Regions from separate parts of the Homo sapiens genome. Here region 1 is linked to region 2. The links are contacts of gene promoters, found by promoter capture Hi-C in human tissues and cell types (Jung and others, 2019). All regions are on one chromosome and are shown on one strand. Each heading gives the region's core, a stretch centred on a gene start or on the middle of the fragment in contact. The rest is flanking DNA. Distances are from core to core; before and after follow the strand shown.

Region 1 (2,700 bases), core at 13-2,512, 1.0 Mb after region 2:
TCATCCCAAACTGCGTTCTATTGTGTTGCCAAAAATGATAGACTTAAATAAATTGCTCTTTTTGGAATTTATACTCGTGCCTTATTCTCATTTTTTTAAAATGAAGAAGAAAATCCTCATGTCCATGTAGAAATTCCCATTTATTTATGTGGTTCCCTGGCCTGCCCCCTCCTCCCCCTGACTTCCTTACCCCAGCAGAGCCGAAGGCATTTTGAATATAGAAACTGCGTGTCCCCTTGCAGTCAAGATGAACAAGAAAAGGAGGTGACGTAAAAGGGGAGAGAAAGCAATTAGTGTGGAATCCTAAACTCCAGATTCTTCTCAGAAATTTTTATGGCTTTTCTTAGGCAGCCGAGGAGAGGCTGATTTACTTAGAGAAACTATTAAGCCTGGTGCAAATTAATTTTTGTTGGTCTACATCTTCTTTTTTAATTTTGTCAATTGCAGCGCCTATTGTTGTGAAAAAATTAGTACCTTAAAGCTGTCTAAACATAAATCTCATCTTCAATTTGTTAGCATTCAGCTGTGGTAAGAATAATTAGATGAAGTGTTTTTTAAGTATTATTTACAAATATGCTTGCAAAAGAATGGTTGAAACAGGCATTTTCTTTAATGGGTTTAAAGACAGACAAATGAAATTAATCAGGAGAGTCTTGCCCTTCTTAATTTTATGGTTTGTGACTGGGGGAGAGCAGCTTGCCACATCTCTGATACAGAGCAGTACTATGTGAGCGCATTGCAGTGCCCTGCAGAGAAGGAAGAGGCGAATTAGGTCAGGATAAGATTTAGAATGCCTGTGGATCCCAGAGACAGCATGGAAATGATCCAGGGGTCACGGGGGACCAGACACAGAGTCACATATATAACCCTGGATATAGATAAAGAAGTGAGGGGGTGGAGAGACATGCAGTACAAGATTGTAAAACTCCAAGTTTGGAATAAAACATCTGAGTTAAGTGTAAAACCCTAACAGTGGGCAGTTCTGTTTCTACCAATGAGGAGTGGTGTGAGATACATCAAAACAGAACCACAAAATTTACAGCAGGTTGAAAACCACCAGACAGGAGGAGGAACAGCAGTGGAGCAGTGCAGAGATGCAGGGCATAGGCTGGTTTAGGCTTCTCCAGAGACCAGGGAATGTCCCTCTTCCTGGGAGAGCCATTGCCAATGCAGATGTCAGAACTTGGGCAGAGGACACGATCACTTGTGCCAATTGGGTTAGCCTCTTCACCCTGATGTCCGCAGGTGGGCTTTGCCCATCTTTCCAATTAGTCCCACACACTTCCTCTCTGTTTTCTATGCTCCAGCCAAACTAGACTGGTCCCTGTTCCCCCAAAACCAGACCGGCTGGAAAAAGCATCTTCCCACCCATCTCCAAGTGTACAAATTGTTCTAATGGCCACTCCTCGCACGAAGCCTTTTCTAAACTCCCTAGCCAGATTTTATCATTCATTTGAAATTCCCTCCCACACCATAACTTTGAAGCTTCCTTTACTTTTTGCCTTCTAGACCTTGCATACCGAACATTTCCATGGCAAGAACTGACTTGTGGCAAGTGCTTTGCATGTATTATTTAATTTTATTCCCCCAGCCATTATTCCTATCTTACAGATGAAGAAATTGAGGCACAGGGAAGTTAAGTAATTCTCTCCAAATAACACTGGTGAAATCAGCCAGGATTCAAACCATAAGCAAGTCAGCAAATGGCCGAGCTCTTAATCATAGCAACTTTACTATGTAAGAAATTGCCGTGACAAATTTGCAGCCTACCTTCTAATCGTGTGTGGAATACCCTGTGGCAGGCATCTTGAGTATCAACCTTCTCCTTTGTCATAGTCCATTCAGCATGCTACAATAAATACCTTAGACTGGGTAATTTATGAACAATAAAAATGTATTGCTCACAGTTCTTGAGTCTGGAAAGTTCCAAATCAAGGCTATAGCAGATTCAGTGTCTGGTGAGAGGCCGTCCCTCATAGACAGTGTTTTCTATGTGTCCTCGAACGATGGAAGGGACAAGGTTCTCTGGGGCTTCTTTTATAACAGCATTAGTCCCATTCACAGGGTACAGCCCTTATGACCTTATTACCTCCAAAGACCCCACCTTTTAATACTGTCACTTTGGTGATTAGGTTTCAACATATAAATTTCAGGAAGACACATTTAGACCATAGCACCTTTGTGGGTTTTTTTTTTAATTTATTTTTATTTTTATTTATTTATTAGTTTATTTATTTATTTAGACAGTCTCACTCTGTCACTTAGGTTGGAGTGCAGTGGTGTGGTCTCAGCTCACTGCAACTTCTGCCTCCCAGGTTCAAGCAATTCTCCTGCCTCAGTCTCCCAAGTACCTGGGACTACAGGCACCCAGCACCATGTCTGGCTAATTTTTGTATTTTTAGTAGAGACAGGGTTTCACCATGTTGGCCAGGCTGGTCTCAAACTCCTGATTTCCAGTGATCCGCCTGCCTCAGCCTCCCAAAGTGCTGGGATTACAGGCGTGAGCCACTGTGCCCAGGCGCACCCTCGGTTTTATTTGGCAAGCTCTTTTCCTTGTACTGTTCCTGATGTTCTTGTTTACTGTAGTGAACTGAATACCATCCCCCCTCAAAATGTTTGTTCGCATGGAACATCAGAATGTGATGGGAATGGGTCTTTGAAAATAGAATTAGATACGATGAGGTCATACAAGTTGGGGTG
Region 2 (2,700 bases), core at 165-2,664:
TCTGAACCTGCATGCATCTCCACAGCTGCCATCTGAGGCACTTTTTATCCCCACTGGTTGTCAAATGATCCTTTATTGAAATATTTTCCTTTGTGCTTAACAAGCTGAGCATTCCACTGCACCACTGTTGATGTCATGAGGGTGGTGACCATCAACATTGCAGCCCACAGATGGTGCAGTCCCCGGGATCTTTTTAATTGTTCCAGAGAGTTCCCTAACTAAAGATTGGAGCTGCATCTGTCAGGCAATGTTGACATTCTCATCAAATGATATTTTCATTGGGTTTAATGTTTTTCTGTTTCTTTCTGTCTCCTGGAGGTTCCTTGAGGGCTTTGATGATCAGGGCAGAGGCAGAAGGTACTACCTCAATCTATGCCTGCCTGTTCTGAATGGTTTCACTGTAATCCTCAGATCCTTCAAATCACCGGTTGCCCTAACGATGTCATTACCAATGTGTTTTGGAGACAGACACAGGGGTTTGATCTTAGGGGCCAGCACAGATGTGGCACCAACATCATTCCCGGTGCATCTCAGACTTTAATCTCGTTGGGGTCAAACTTAGGCTGTATGGTGGAGGTAGGTGGTGTTGGATGAACCTGGATTCAGGACCACCAAAGAAAGTTGCACATTGGTCTACTCTGAGCTGAAAATTGAAAGGTGGGGCACCTTTTCTCATGGCAGACACAGGCATAGCTAAGCAAGTCCAAATGCACAAGCACAGGCCTAGCCCCTGCTTGCATCACATCTGCTAATGCCCAGCTGTCTGGAGCAAGTGAGATGACCTACCCTAAAGCCAAGTTCAAGGAAGTACACTCTGCCCACCGTGAGGCCCCAGCAAGGGGGGGTATGCAGCAGGGGAGTGAAGAATTGGGACCAATAATTAGATCCACACAGGATAAAGGTCCTTTGGAAACCATTGAGCTCTGGCCGCATTAGTTACTATGGTTACTGTTACTATTATAGGTTACTACTATTATCACCTGTCCAGAAGACCAGGTACCCTAAGCCAAGTTGTGTCACAGACAGCTCTCAGGAAAGAATCACTTGACTAAACGCCAAAGATCAGGTTTGGGATCTGCAATTCAAAACTGCAGTTTGGGCATAGAAAAGATTAAACGTAGCACAAAACAACAACCACACTATCCTCCCAAAGCCCCTTCCAGGCAGCTCCAGGGCCGGCCCAGCGGATCAATAGCAATCTGGGGTGCTAGGGAGGGCGCCATCTGAGTAGTTCGGAAGAACTGAACATGATGAGTTGCCGGCTGCTTCCTGAGTCCTTGGGGAAGCACACGCACCATCCACTTAGCACTGGAGCCTGGCTGTTCTCCGGGCACTCCTACCCCATCTTCCTGGCGGGGCTTAGATGCTCCTGCCTCTTCCACCAGCTCCTCTTGCCCTGCATGCTTCAGGGACGATGGAGGTCTCGGGGCACCCCCAGGCCAGGAGATGCTGCCCAGAGGCCCTGGGAAAGCTCTTCCCTGGCCTCTGCTTCCTCTGCTTTCTGGTGACCTACGCCCTGGTGGGTGCTGTGGTCTTCTCTGCCATTGAGGACGGCCAGGTCCTGGTGGCAGCAGATGATGGAGAGTTTGAGAAGTTCTTGGAGGAGCTCTGCAGAATCTTGAACTGCAGTGAAACAGGTAGGTGCCTCACCTGGACAGGGTGGGCCTTTTCTCCGTGGTGGCAGCAGTCCCCCAAGAGCAGAGGGCTGCCTTCTAGGAGGCTGGGTCTGGGAGCTGCCTGCCTGGATCCTCCTCATGCCTGGGCACTTTAAGCGAGTAACTTCTTTCTGAACCTCTGTTTTCTCCTCTGAAAAGTGGGGAGACTAACTGCCTCTCAGGGTTGCTGTGAAGAATGCAGGAAAGGCCCTGAGCACCCTGAGGTGCTCAGGAAAGACCAGCTCCCCTTCCTGTGCCTCAGCACCCAGCCCCATCCAGACCAGTGGCCTCAGGGGACGATGGATTACTGGGAATTTGGTGGGGTGGGGTGCATGGGTGAGCAAATCTGGGGCTGGGGTTGGGGGGCTAGCTTGCTTTTCAGAACTATGTCTGCCTGACCCAGGATTCAGTTTGCAGGGATGAGAATTTAGGGAACAACCCAAATTGGATTTAAATTCCAGCAGGAGCACCTGCCACCCACGCCCCCACTTCCTGTTTCAAACTCCTTTTCTGCTGTCTGGCTCAGCGGAGTGGGGAGGTGTTGTGAGAAGACCTGGGGGGAGGGGTGGGGGTCCTGGCTGTTGTCCTGGCTGCTCTCCCAGCTTGCTCTGCAATCCGTGGAGGCAAAGCTTTGTTCTCTCTGGGTCTCAGTCTGCGGGAGAGAAGGGGACCCCCAATCTCAGACTTGGTGGTCACAGGGACCCTGTGAGAAGCAGAGGAGACAAGGAACATTCTGGCTCTTGGAAGACAGAAGTCACTTTATAGTGTCCTCATTGCATTTTCTTCATATTTAGTCACTTGTTTCTACTCTGCTGTGTTCCTCGAAGGAAGCTTGTTATTGTATTCAACAGAGCAAGATAAAACAAGGGAGAGTAGATAAATGAAAAACAAAGGAAAACCAGACACTAAAAGTCAGGAGAAGAATGGGGTGCAGGGAGCCCCTCCCCTCCCACTCTGGTGTGGGGGCTCCTTCCACAGCCCAGACCTTGATTTGGGAACAGGTGCAGCTCCCAGAGACAAGAGGCCAGTCCAGGGAGGCAGAGTC

Evidence for each region. Contacts are between HindIII fragments. The study calls those that stand out against the background at their distance.
Region 1: a fragment that was not itself captured here is called in contact with the fragment with the promoter of KCNK18 in region 2 in 1 of the 25 tissues and cell types used here (spleen).

Annotation. Positions count from the first base shown.
Region 1 is chr10:118,216,044-118,218,743 of GRCh38, forward strand. No RefSeq gene overlaps it. Among named protein-coding and RNA genes, the nearest start is that of LINC02944, 24 kb to the right of the region's middle. The HindIII fragment of the contact is 4,157 bases long and covers 1-2,700 here.
Region 2 is chr10:117,196,075-117,198,774 of GRCh38, forward strand. KCNK18 (potassium two pore domain channel subfamily K member 18) reads left to right here and starts at 1,415. Exons shown (of 3, transcript NM_181840.1): 1 at 1,415-1,637. The coding sequence starts at 1,415. It also overlaps the pseudogene RPL12P26. The HindIII fragment of the contact is 5,609 bases long and covers 1-2,700 here.